Linked DNA regions of Homo sapiens: all the other regions are linked to region 3. The links are contacts of gene promoters, found by promoter capture Hi-C in blood cells and fetal thymus (Javierre and others, 2016). All regions are on one chromosome and are shown on one strand. Each heading gives the region's core, a stretch centred on a gene start or on the middle of the fragment in contact. The rest is flanking DNA. Distances are from core to core; before and after follow the strand shown. Region 1 overlaps KBTBD2 (kelch repeat and BTB domain containing 2). Region 2 has its middle 39 kb from the start of LINC00997. Region 3 holds the start of BBS9 (Bardet-Biedl syndrome 9).

Region 1 (4,932 bases), core at 223-2,722, 260 kb after region 3:
GAGTATGCATGACACTGGTTGAATGCCAACACCTGGGTATAATTCTGGAAACCAGAACTCAGTTCATGCTTTATGTAGTCTCCTTCCTTTTTAATCTTCCATAGGTTGAGTACCCTTTATCCAAAATGATTGGGACCAGAAATCCAGTTCAGCCAGTTTCAGATTTTTTCAGATTTTAGGATATTTGCATTATATGTTAGATTTACATCATCCCTAATCTAAAAATCTAGACTCTGAAGTGCTCCCGTGAGTATTTCAAGTGTCATGTCAGCACTCAAAACATTTCAGTTTTTGGAGCATTTTGGATTTTGAATTTTTGAATTAGGGATACTCAACTTTTTGTGTGACAGGGTCTTGCTCTGTTGTCCAGGCTGCAGCACAGTGGTGAGATCACAGCTCACTGCAGCCTCGATCTGGGCTCAAGTCATCCCCCAGCCTTAGCCTCCTGAGTAGCTGGGTCTGTAGACATGCATCACCACACTTGGCTAATTATTTGATTTTTTTGTAGAGACAAGATCTTATGTTGCCCAGGCTAGTCTCAAACTCTTGAGCTCAGGCACTCCTCTCACCTAGGCCTCCCAAAGTGCTAGGATTACAGGTGCGAGTTACAACACCTGGCCAACCTTTACTCCTTATTACACTAACTTTATCGTTAGTGTTCTACTCTACCCACAACTCTGGGGAAACTGAGGCTGGGGTAGCTTGCTGGTGCACTAGTAATTCCAAACTTGAACGGGAGAAATGCTTATTGGAAGCACTGTCTTTATATAGTTTGCAAGTTGTCATTACTTTTTATTTTTAGAGACATGTCTTGTTCTGTTGCCCAGGCTGGAATGCAGTGGCATGCCACCATGCAGTGGCATGGTGATAGCTCACTGCAGTCTCAAATTGCTGGGCTCAAGTAATCCTCCTCCCTGTAATCCCAAAGTGCTGGGATTATAGGCATGCACCAGCACATCCAGCTAATTTTTTGTTGGTCCTTCTTTTAAAAGCAGGCATTTCTCAGAATTACTAAGGCATTAAGGAATTTTAAGAAAATCTGATTCCAGAATACTTTGTTACTGTAAATATTGACACTGCTCCTTAACATTTTTTTTCTGCCATTTTAACGAAAACCGTATACTACTTCTGCTTGCTCAAATGCAAAACAGGACTCTGCCTCTTAGACTGTGTTGCCCTGGAAGCCTGAGATGGGGCATTCTATGACTACCAATATTACTTTCACTATCAACCACATGAAGTGATCATATGTTTCAGTACCAGATGGTGTACTGATACTTTATATATATTCTCATCTGATCCTTACAGGGCTCATTTGAGGGAGATAACTATTATTTCCCCATTTTATATAAGAGAAAATTGAAGTTTAGAGATGTGAAGCTTCTTTCCTAATAAGTAGTTTCCAGGTACTAATTGGCCAATTAAGTTTTAAATCCAAGCAACCTGACTTGTCAGTGTAAACAGTTTCTAGTTAATCACTGTGATGCTGAATAAGTATAGTGGGTAGCACATCTGATTCAACTGAGATCTACCTTCTTAAGAAAAAACAAATCTAGGAAGCTTACAGTGGCTAAGATGGGTCATTTAAATGTAGGTGATTTATAACTGCACGTAAGTCTATTTCGTGTTGCTTTGTTATCTTACCTCTCGATAAGAATGGCAAATAACTACTCTTACTCATTGTGCATGATTTTCTGGTTTTATGTGACTGTGTTCAAATTGAGGAAACCAGAATCCAGTTATTCAACAACAATAATTTTCTCTATACTATGATTTATTTACATTTTTTCATATAGTTCTCTCAATTATATATAAAGTCTAGGAAAGTATGACTTATGTGTGAATTTCCTTACCTATTCTTTAAGGCTGTTTTGTTTTTTAAGAGCCTATTTATTGTTGTACTGCTGGTTCCTAAATAGAACAGTTAAGTAGGCCACTGAGCAGGAAAAAATACTGCAAAATTTTATAGTCTTCTGAGTTTATTACTACCAGAAGACCTTATCTCAGCCCAGATGTGTGTATCTGAAAATAAAAATTACACTATGGGCATCTGATTAATATACTTACGTCTTACATAAAAGTAAAATGTGTCTGTCCTGGCCCTATCAGCCTGTTTTTTTTTTCCTTCTCATTCTAGGTAGAAGATGTGTTACAACGTTGTCGAGAATATTTAATTAAAAAAATAAATGCAGAGAATTGTGTACGATTGTTGAGTTTTGCTGATCTCTTCAGTTGTGAGGAATTAAAACAGAGTGCTAAAAGAATGGTGGAGCACAAGTTCACTGCTGTGTATCATCAGGACGCGTTCATGCAGCTGTCACATGACCTACTGATAGATATTCTCAGTAGTGACAATTTAAATGTAGAAAAGGAAGAAACCGTTCGAGAAGCTGCTATGCTGTGGCTAGAGTATAACACAGAATCACGATCCCAGTATTTGTCTTCTGTTCTTAGCCAAATCAGAATTGATGCACTTTCAGAAGTAACACAGAGAGCTTGGTTTCAAGGTCTGCCACCCAATGATAAGTCAGTGGTGGTTCAAGGTCTGTATAAGTCCATGCCCAAGTTTTTCAAACCAAGACTTGGGATGACTAAAGAGGAAATGATGATTTTCATTGAAGCATCTTCAGAAAATCCTTGTAGTCTTTACTCTTCTGTCTGTTACAGCCCCCAAGCAGAAAAAGTTTACAAGTTATGTAGCCCACCAGCTGATTTGCATAAGGTTGGGACCGTTGTAACTCCTGATAATGATATCTACATAGCAGGGGGTCAAGTTCCTCTGAAAAACACAAAAACAAATCACAGTAAAACAAGCAAACTTCAGACTGCCTTCAGAACTGTGAATTGCTTTTATTGGTTTGATGCACAGCAAAATACCTGGTTTCCAAAGACCCCAATGCTTTTTGTCCGCATAAAGCCATCTTTGGTTTGCTGTGAAGGCTATATCTATGCAATTGGAGGAGATAGCGTAGGTGGAGAACTTAATCGGAGGACCGTAGAAAGATACGACACTGAGAAAGATGAGTGGACGATGGTAAGCCCTTTACCTTGTGCTTGGCAATGGAGTGCAGCAGTTGTGGTTCATGACTGCATTTATGTGATGACACTGAACCTCATGTACTGTTATTTTCCAAGGTCTGACTCATGGGTAGAAATGGCCATGAGACAGACTAGTAGGTCCTTTGCTTCAGCTGCAGCTTTTGGTGATAAAATTTTCTATATTGGAGGGTTGCATATTGCTACCAATTCCGGCATAAGACTCCCCTCTGGCACTGTAGATGGGTCTTCAGTAACTGTGGAAATTTATGATGTGAATAAAAATGAGTGGAAAATGGCAGCCAACATCCCTGCTAAGAGGTACTCTGACCCCTGTGTTAGAGCTGTTGTGATCTCAAATTCTCTATGTGTGTTTATGCGAGAAACCCACTTAAATGAGCGAGCTAAATACGTCACCTACCAATATGACCTGGAACTTGACCGGTGGTCTCTGCGGCAGCATATATCTGAACGTGTACTGTGGGACTTGGGGAGAGATTTTCGATGCACTGTGGGGAAACTCTATCCATCCTGCCTTGAAGAGTCTCCATGGAAACCACCAACTTATCTTTTTTCAACGGATGGGACAGAAGAGTTTGAACTGGATGGAGAAATGGTTGCACTACCACCTGTATAGTGGGGAAGTTCAGGGAGTGCACGCCTGAGTTATGTGCTTTGTCATTTTCTTTGCTAAACAAAAGAGGCTATGAAAGAACTAAATATGAGTACATAAAATTCTATCTTTGATAAATTTTATTTTTATGCCCTACTTAATATTTGCATCAGTATAATATATATCAGTGAGTCTTACAGAAAGATATGCTTCCATAATATGAAATAGATTATTCAATAATTGAGAAACTTTATGTGTAATCATGAGAGTATAAGAATCTGGATTATCTAACATTGTTAGCCCTGTGTATGTACAGTTCAAAAAGTTCATTTATAAAAGTAGTTTCCTGTTCCTAGTGTGATGTATCACAAATTGTGCTGAGGTTATTTTAGTATGTGTGTTTCATTCCCGTGCTTCTGTTCTGAAGTCCTGGAATACAGTTTTCAGTGTAATTAATTCAACTGCACTTAACACTAATGTCCGTGTTGGTATAGAAATGTCTAAATCCTATACTCTAGTTGAGGAAGATCTTCCATAATTTTATGGTATTACACAGGGAAAGCTATGACTGCAGGATCAGTCTAACTATACTATTAGGTGCATGTATTCTCTTTTCACTAACTTATACTTGTCTATCTAGAATACAGGTCTTCCAGTCAGCTGGTCATTTACCAGGTGTGGACTTAAGTTGCTAGGCTTGCAGTAAGAATTGCCAGCCACTCATTGTGCGGGTCTGCGTGGAGCTTTAATCAGAAAAAGCCTCCACTTTCTGTATTATGTTAACATTGGCTCATGCATATAACTATCTGCTGCTGATGTAGTTCTCCATCTTCAAGATTTAGAGTGGGTTAACCAGGTCATTACATCTTAATTTAATAACAAGCATTACTGTAGAGTGATTGTGTATAGATCTGTTAGCTGTCAGGGTGTGTTTTTTTTAACCTGTTGTGTGCGTGTGGGGGTTAGGATTAGTAAGGTGAACTGTTCAGGAATTCTCTGCACTAGCTGTGCAGAAGAGCAGATAACTAGCGCTGCTCTGGCATTAATCCCAGGAACCACTAGCAGTAGTGGGGCGCCGCCAATCTAACATGAGCACAGGTGCTTCATGACAAACATTACTAGCATGTTCAACTGCACCATGTTCTGGCACTGTATTTTGAATGACATTAATTTATTAAATAAATTGTATATATTCAATATCTATTTTTCTTTTGTTATGGGAATGGTCTGCTTTTTAAATTTTGATTTTGCTAGGTCAAACTTAGCTAGTAATAGGTGGTTTC
Region 2 (4,345 bases), core at 1,380-3,879, 330 kb after region 3:
TGAAAATTAGCCGGGCATGGTAGCTTGTGCCTGCAGTCTCAGGTACTCAGGAGGCTGCAGTGGGAGGACTGATTGAGACTGGGAGGTTGAGGCTGCAGTTAACCATGATGGCACCACTGCACTCCAGCTTGGGTGACAGAGTGAGACCTTACCTCAAAAAAAAAATGTTTTTTAATAGTTGATAGTACATACAATGCAGTTGTTTATTGACTTTTTTTTTTTTTTTCAGAGATGAGGTCTTGCTCTGTTGCCCAGGCTAGCCTTGAACTACAGGGCTTAAGTGACCCTCCCACGTCAGCCACCTCAGTAGCTGGGACTGCAGGCATGAGCCACCAAGCTTGGCTTATATTGGTCTTTATCTTGTAATCCGGCTACGTTATTATTTCTAGAGTTTTTGTTTTGTTTTTTGAGACTCCTTCAAAGCCATATGCCTTTTCATTTTTCCTTAAACTATTGAGGGTTAAATTTTTTCTTTTCCTTGTCTTATTGCCTCAGTTAGGACTTCCAGTACAATTGTGAATAGAGGTGGTGAAAGCTGACATCTTTGTTTAGCTCCTGATGGTAGGGGGAAAGTTTTCCATCTTTCACTATTATACATATTAGCTGTAGATTTTTCATAGATGTTCCTCATCAGGTTGAGGAAGTTTCTTTCTCTTCCTAATTTGGTGAGTTTTAATCATAAATGGGTCCTCTAATTTGTCAAATAATTTTTCTATGTATTAGTCCATTTTCACACTGCTATTAAGAGCTACCTGAGAGTGGGCAGTTTATAAAGAAAAGATGTTTAATTGACTCACAGTTCCACATGGCTGGAGAGGCCTCAGGAAACTTACAATTATGGCAGAAGGCAAAGGAGAAACAAGCCATATCTTACATGGCGACGAGAGAGAGAGAAGAGAGAGAGGAGAGAGACAAAGGAGAGAAGGAGAGAGAGAGAGAGCAAGTGCAAAGGGGGATGTGCCACACTTTTAAACCATCATATCTAGTGAGAACTCACTATCACAAGAACAGCATGGAGAACTGCCCCCATGATCCAGTCACCTCCCACCAGTTCCCTACCCTAACATGTGCGGACTAAAAATTCCACATGAGGCCGGGCGCAGTGGCTCATGCCGGTAATCCCAGCACTTTGGGAGGCCGAGGCGAGCGAATCACCTGAGATCGGGAGTTGGAGACCAGCCTGACCAACATGGTGAAACCCTGTTTCTACTAAAATACAAAAAATTATCCAGGTGCACAGGCGTGGTGGCGCACGCCTGTAGTCCCAGCTACTAGGGAGGCTGAGGCAGGACAATAGCTTGAACCCGGGAGGCGGAGGGTGCAGTGAGCCGACATCACCCCACTGCACTCCAGCCTGGTGACAGAGCAAGACTCTGTATATATATATAAAAAAAAATTCCACATGCGATTTTGGTGGGGACACAGAGCCAAACCATATCAGTATCTATTGGCACAGTCCTATGGTTTTTGTCCTTTATTCTGTTAGTATGGTATGTGATTTTCTGATATTAAAGCAATCTTTTATTTATGAGATAAACTCTACTTGTTTATATCATTTTTATATGTTGGGAAGTTTTTTTTTTTTTTTAATTCCAACTCATTTGATGGTTATTTGACAAATCCTTTCTCCATGGTGTCAGAGACATTTCAGTACTAATTAGAATTCCAAAATAGTTGCCTGAATGACTTTACTGAAATTAAATTTTTCTTCATGACCTATACACTCCTTTACATAGGTTTTGTTCAGTTCTGTGCTTGTTATGTGCCACACACTTTTAGGTGTTGAAGATAAAGAGATAAATAGGGTAGACACAAGCCCTTGCCCTCACAGCAGTGAAGACAATCAAAATGACTAATACAGTTGGGTGTTAAGTAATATGAGGTGCATTTGAAATTTAAACAAAAGGAACCAAGATAGAATTTTTGTTAAAGCCTCCTGGAGGAAGTTACATGAGGTGTAAATTGAACTTAACCAGGGTTACCATATCATTTACCATCCAAACAGGCACACTTTTGAGAGTGATAGTGAAAACAAGCATAAACTAGGATGTATGGTTACCTAAGATTTAACCAGTCCATGGGGAATGGTGCTTAAGGCAGAAAAAACTGTATGAAAAGAAGGCCCATTAAAGTAACTAAAACATTCAATTTGGTCAGTTTGTAAATTGTGAAGAAGGAAATTAGTCCAGAAAAGCAAGCAAAGACCAGATTCAAAAGGCCTTATAAATCAGAAAATAACCTGGATTTTATTTCAAGGGTAATAAATGTTCTAAACAAAAGCATGACATTAAAATTGTATTGAAAAATATCTGATTGCAGTGTGGAGAAAATGTGAGCAAAGAACTGCACCAAAGAGATCATCTGGGGAGGGAACGGAGAGTGGTATGGGGTTTTGGGGGTCATGAAAATGTTACACAATGGATTGATAGGTGCACAACTCTGTGAATACTCTAAAGATCAATGGATTGTACATGTTAAATGGGTGAAATGTATGGAATGTGAATTATAGCTCGATAATGCAGTTAATTTTGAAAAACGGATCACTTAGAAATTTATTAAATTCTCCAGGTGACAGATGATAGGGGCTCGATTCATGTGTTAGAAGTGAGGATGAATTCAAGAGATTTGAGAACCTACCAGGCCTTGTGACGGACAGAATTCATGGAGGTGAGGAAGAGGGAAGAGTCGAAGTTGACTTTCAAGTTTCTACCTTAGAAAGCCAGTGGGGGATGGTGCCACTTACTGAACCTGAACCACAGGCAGGTGTGGGGTAGATAAGAGCCAGAGGTTCTTCAGACATGTTAAATTTGAGACCTTTGAGATATCCAAGGTGGATATCCAAGGCAGACTCTCAGGTAATGGTCTGGGCGGTGATTCACTGTAATGAACAAGACTGCCTACGGCATGTATGAATAGAGGAAGGCCAAGATCTGAGATGGTTAGAGGTGAGATCAGCAAGAGGCTGAGAAAATCCCAAGATAGGAAGAAAACCAGGGAAGCATAACATCAGAAGTCCAGTTCAGAGTGTTTCACACAAAGTGTTCAGTGTGGATTACTATCATGTGTCAATGAGACAAGTAGCCTCTGAACTTTAAAAAGATTGAAGTTTCAACTTCAGTGGAGTGATAGTTGCACAAATCACTCTCACCTCGGTTCAGTGGAGAATTGTGGTTCATCGGAAGACAAGGCATGGAACAAGGTTTGTGAAGGGGAGAAGAGGGAAAGAGTTGAGGCGAGAAAGATCTTTGTTTTTAAAATGGTTTGGCTGTTTTTCCTTTAGAGAGGTTAAAGATATTGAAGAAATGAGCAGGCTGCATAAAAATCAGCTAGGAATGATCGTTTAAAAGTTAAGGTTTGGTGGCTGGGCGCGGTGGCTCACACCTGTAATCCCAGCACTTTGGGAGGCCAAGGCGAGTGGATCACCTGAGGTTGGGAGTTCAAGACCAGCCTGACCAACATGGAGAAACCTTATCTCTACTAAAAATACAAAATTAGCCGGGCATGGTGGTGCATGCCTGTAATCCCAGCGACTCGAGAGGCTAAGGCAGAAGAATCGCTTGGACCCGGGAGGCGGAGGTTGCAGTGAGCCGAGATTGCGCCATTGCACTCCAGCCTGGGCAACAAGAGTGAAACTCAGTCTCAAAAAAAAAAAAAAAAAAGTTAAGGTTTGGCAGGCCGGACACGGTGGCTCATGCCTGTAATCCCAGCACTTTGGGAGGCTGAGGCGGGTGGATCACAAGGTCAGGAGTTCAAGACCAGCCTGGCCAAGATAGTGAAGCCCTGTCTCTACTAAAAATACAAAAAATTAGCTGGGCATGGTGGCAGGCACCTGTAATCCCAGCTAATGGGGAGGCTGAGGCAGAGAACTGTTTGAACCCAAGAGGCGGAGGTTGTAGTGAGCCGAGATCACACCGCTGCATTCCAGCCTGGGCGACAGAGACTCCATCTCAAAAAAAAAAAAAAAGTTAAAGTTTGGCGCCAGGTGCAGAGGCTCACGCCTGTAATCCCAGCACTTTGGGAGGCTGAGGCAGGCAGATCACTTGAAGTCAGGAGTTTGAGACCAGCCTGGCCAACATGGTGAGACCTGTCTCTACTAAAAATAGGAAAATTAGCTGGGCACGGTGGCGGGCACCTGTAACCCCAGCTAATGGGGAGGCTGGAACAGGAGAATCGCTTGATCAGGGAGGTGAAGGCTGCAGTGAGCTGAGATCATGCCACTGCACTCCAGCCTGGGTGACAGAATGAGACTCCCTGTATGTCTGTGTCTACACATGGCATTCTCCTCTCTGTGTGAGTCTCTGTGACTCTTTCCCTCTTATAAGGACACCAGTCATATTGGATTAAG
Region 3 (4,652 bases), core at 123-2,622:
TGTTGGATTTTTTCCCTTCAGTGAGCATTTCTATCAAGAAGTTGTACCATAAATATAAGTGTATAGTTGTAATTTAACCACGACAATTACACACAAGGAAAAATCCCTTAAACTCTGACAAATAACTTGTAACTTATTTTCAAAATAAAGTTTTTTAAAATTCTTCTTTAAAAACTTCTGGGTTTTCTAGTTTTTTTTTTAATTCTTCCGTATATTCATGAAAAAAATCTCAGTAATTGTTTTCTTTATAAAATGCTAATAAGTTAGAAAATCTTTCTCTGAATGCTGGCCAACTTAAGACCCATAGCTTATCCTGCAGCATCTTTCAAGTTGTTTATCAATGAGGACATGTAAGATGTGTATACCTGTAAGATACGGTTTCATTTTTAAAGTAAAAGTGAGATACCCAAAAAAATACATTTCTCCAGGAAATTGAAGTCAAAGGCAGGATTTGACTGGCAGGAGGTGCTGATAAAATCAGCGCAGCTCATCTAAACTGTTGTGGTCTCCAAGTAACAAGAGGAGAAACAATAATCCTATTACTAGAAGGATTGGGGGTATTAGTACATGCATCCTACTTCAGTCGTAGGCTGGGAACTGCTTTGCCCATTTACTCACAGACCTGTTGAAGTGTCTCAGGAGGATGCTCATGCTCCAAGTGACATTCCTCAATGGAATCCTTAAAAATTCTCATCCCTTTTTTCTCAAAAGTACTCACAGAATCTCATACACTTTGTGCTCCTAGTGTTTGTTTATTTCAGTGCAAACATCTAAGAAATCAATCACCTTACAGACTCCAAACCATTATACTGCATTAGAGAATCTTGTTCACAAAATAAAACATGGAAAGGGTATTCATGTACCCGAAGTTTAACAACAGACATACCATCTTACCTGATGCCACGTCAGATGAGCTCTGCCCCACCTTTCTGCGAACCCTCGTTCGGCAAATTTTGCTTTATGAACGCCTGACAAGGTCCCAGTGATGGAGCAGAGGGAGCAAGAACGGACGGTGCAGAGAAAAGCAACCTTTAGCTTCACTATTCCCTCTCGTCCTCCAGCTGAAAGTTGTTCCACGTCCCGGGCAAAGAGAGAGCCCCACCAGGCAGCACCACCAGCTCCACAGAGTTGGAGTGATTCCCCCAAGAAGCTCCCCTGCGCCCCCCGTCACCCCCAGAGACCAGCAGAGGAAACGGCATCTATCCCTTGGAAGACACTAGGCAGGCGAGAACAAATGCAAGTCCTGCTGCTCACACCGAGGAGGAAAGGATGGAGGAGGCGGTGAATGGGATGTAGCAGAAACCCGACGGCCGCAGCGGAAGGGACACCTCCCCTCTCCAGCCTAACTCTGAGCCATCTTCGCCCTGTTGTCATAGCACTTACAACGGACGCCACTGCGCAGGTCACGCCGTGCCGCGCCGACTTCTGGGGGCTGGAGTCCAGAGAGGCTGAGGCGCAAAGGCGGGGACCGACTTCTGAGAGGGCCGCGGTTGGAATTAGATTGCTACTGGGGCGGGGCTCGAGTGAACCACGGCCTGGTCCTCATTAGCAGAGAGTGATAATTACTGCAATCCTCTGCCCTGTCCTGGCAGCAGTTCCTTAAGGAAGACCCTCCTCCTGCCTGGGCTCCGGGGGCAGGCCACGCCCCCCCGGCCGCGTGACCGCCCTCTCCCCTCGGTGCGTGTGGGTGGGGCCTAGTGGGGGCGGGGCGTCACTGGCTTGTCCATGGTGCTCTGGGATCCTGCGCTTCTGAGAGTCCCAATCGCGGTGTTTTTTTCCTGCCGGGACACTCATGAGGGCCCCGTCCATGCACCGCGCGACCGTGGCGAGGGTGGTCGCGGTAGCGAGCGCCAGCGTGTGCGCCCTGGTGGCGGGGGTGGTGCTGGCCCAGTACATATTCACCTTGGAGAAGAAGGCGAGGCGGAAGACCAAGATCATCGAGATGATGAAGCTTTTGAACAGTTTCCAGTTTTTCCTTTTTTTACTATTTGAAACAGCGCTGCTTTGAAGTTACTTGTGCCTGCGTCCTGATACACATGTGTTAAATATATTTTCCGTATATACCTTAGAGTGCATTTCCTGGTATATGGGATTGGATCTATGTCTTCTTTTGTTTTTTACTTATTTTTTTTTAATCTTTACATTCAAATTCAATGTAGCCAACCTTGAAGTTTTTCTTGTTTGCTTTTTTCAATGGATTCTAGTGTAGGCTTTAAATTTCCAGTATTTCACCATCAATCCACAAATCCACATTCCCAGTAGAAAATACCATTCTAGTTTTAGTTTTTTGGGTTTTGGGTTTTTTTTTTTTTTTTAACTGAGACTGGGTCTCCCTGACAGGGTCGCCTAGACTGGAGTGCAGTGACAGGATCACTGCTCACTGAAGCACTGAAGCCTCAGCCTCCCGGGCTCAAACGATTCTCCCACCTTAGCCTTCCTAGTAAGCTGGGACTACAGGCACAGACCACCACACCTGGCTAATTTTTGTATTTTTTGTAGAGATGGAGTTTCGCCATGTCCAGGTTGCTCTCGAACTCCTGGGTTCAAACGATCCACCCACCTCAGTCCCCCAAAGTGCTGGGATTGCTGGCGTGAGCCACCGCGTCCGGCCTCAATATTTTTAAAAATGACCTTTCAGTCAAAGCCTTGGTAATATAACCAGTTTCCAATTGTATTCTGCTATACAGAGAGAGCAGATTTTTATTAGACTTATTGAAATGACCATATTACCATAAGAAGACTCACAAATGGTTTTCTAATTATGGAGGAATCAAGTAAAGAGAAAAAAAGTTTTTATCTTTTTTTACACAAGTATACTCTATCAAATTGCTGTAAATTATAAATAGCTTAAAAGACAAGATTTTCTTAAATCTGGAAAAAACTATTTGAGTAAAGAACCAACAACATTTGAAATAATATCATAAAAACATTGTCTTCATTAGTTAAACTCACGTAATTAATTCTTGTTCTGCCTGATCTTGATTAATAGTTTCATGAACCCACTTTTTTATTACAGTTCTGGAAATTGTTATATTGTCCATTGATCTTCAAGTTGTTAGAAACCCAAATCTAAGAGTATATTTTAGGGCCAGGCACAATGGTTCATGCCGGTAATCCCAGCAATTTGGGAGGCCAAGGCGGGAGGATCATTTGAGGCCAGGAGTTGGAGAAAAGCCTGGCCAATATAGTGAAACCCCATCTCTACTAAAAATACAAAAAATTAACCCAGCGTGGTAGCGCATGCCTGTAATCCCAGCTACTCAGGAGGCTGAGGCATGAGAATCACTGGAACCAGGGAGGCAGAGGTTGCAATGAACCAGGATCGTGCCACTGCACCCCAGCCTGGGCATCAGAGCAAGATTGTCTCAAAAATAAATAAATAAAAATAAAAGAGTACTTGTTAGAATATTTTCCAGGAGTCTGTTTTTTAAAAAAGAATTCAAAACAATAATATGGATGACAAAAACTTAAAATAGCCATGGTTAAAAATCTGATGAAGTTAACAACTGAGAAGAACATTTATTTATTGCTATTATATACAGTATTTTAAGATAACCAGAATTATGACTGGTAATATAATACATTTGTACGAATTTTTTTTAAAGATGGGGTCTTGCTCTATTGCCCAGGCTAGAGTGCAGTGGCACATTCATAGCTGACTGCAATCTCAAACTCCTGGACTCAAGCAATCCTTCTGCCTCAGCCTCTCAAGTAGCTGGGACTACACGTTTGTACCACCATGCTTGGTTTTTTTTTGGTTTTTTTTGTTTTTGTTTTGTTTTGTTTTGTTTTAATAGAGACAGGGTCTTGTTTTGTTGCCCAAGCTGGACACAAATTCCTGGCTATAAGTAATCCTCTGACCTCAGCCTCCCAAAGTGTTGGGATTATAGGCATGAGCCATCATTCCCAGCATACTTGTATGGACTTATATAATTTTTCAAACATTCATATAAACAATATTCCCATAAATGCAAATAAAAGAAAAATCTAGTATCAGTTATCGTTTGACAATATTTCTTATAAAATTTACCAAATAACCCAAATCATTTAATACCTCTAAAAGATGAGAAAGATATGTTTTAATGCTTTCCAGGAGTCCAACTGGAAAATTCCAAAGTTAATTCTACATTTAAAAAACTTAAATTGGAATTTGATTTTGAGGAAGTTTTTAAAGGGCTCAAAACACTGTATCAATACAGAATCACAAGTTACTTGTGAAATAAGTCATTTATATAACCAGAGTGATAATCAAAAGGCTTAAAAAGCCATACAAATAATTACATTAAAACTATCTTAACCATTTTAAACTTCAGGTTAAAAAAAAATCAAATCTAATAAAAGCAACACAGGAAATTATGTTGATAAAATGTATAATCTTCCTTAGGCCAGGTACCAAAAAAGTAAAGAAAAACTTTCTGCAATGTGATTGTTTCTCCTTTTGGGGAGCTCATTTAGATAACCTGGAGGTCGAATCTGATGAAAAGGGTACTTGAATTTAATCAGATACAGGAAGATGTGTCCCAGGTCATGATTATAACAATTCACATGTATCAAGAAAAGCCAAGAGTACAGAATCAAGTTATATTGAAAAAGAGCATTGATTTCTAGGCCTTCAGGATAAACCTTTAGTGTCAGGCCATACCAGCAATTAG

What was found. The method cuts DNA at HindIII sites, captures the fragments that hold promoters and counts their contacts. A CHiCAGO score of 5 or more calls a contact.
Region 1: a contact is called between a fragment that was not itself captured here and the fragment with the promoter of BBS9 in region 3, in 8 of 17 cell types (neutrophils, activated CD4 T cells, total B cells and 5 more). The highest score is 8.8, in neutrophils.
Region 2: a contact is called between a fragment that was not itself captured here and the fragment with the promoter of BBS9 in region 3, in 2 of 17 cell types (neutrophils and M2 macrophages). The highest score is 9.6, in neutrophils.

Annotation. Positions count from the first base shown.
Region 1 is chr7:32,868,086-32,873,017 of GRCh38, reverse strand. It overlaps KBTBD2 (kelch repeat and BTB domain containing 2), which reads left to right. Exons shown (of 4, transcript NM_015483.3): 4 at 2,138-4,846. The coding sequence ends at 3,673. Among named protein-coding and RNA genes, the nearest start is that of KBTBD2, 21 kb to the left of the region's middle. The HindIII fragment of the contact is 180 bases long and covers 1,383-1,562 here.
Region 2 is chr7:32,795,059-32,799,403 of GRCh38, reverse strand. No RefSeq gene overlaps it. Among named protein-coding and RNA genes, the nearest start is that of LINC00997, 39 kb to the right of the region's middle. The HindIII fragment of the contact is 4,579 bases long and covers 340-4,345 here.
Region 3 is chr7:33,126,284-33,130,935 of GRCh38, reverse strand. It overlaps BBS9 (Bardet-Biedl syndrome 9), which reads right to left and starts at 1,372. Exons shown (of 23, transcript NM_198428.3): 1 at 895-1,372. RefSeq lists enhancers at 1,310-1,419, 1,910-1,959 and a silencer at 1,470-1,769. The HindIII fragment of the contact is 9,509 bases long and covers 1-1,953 here.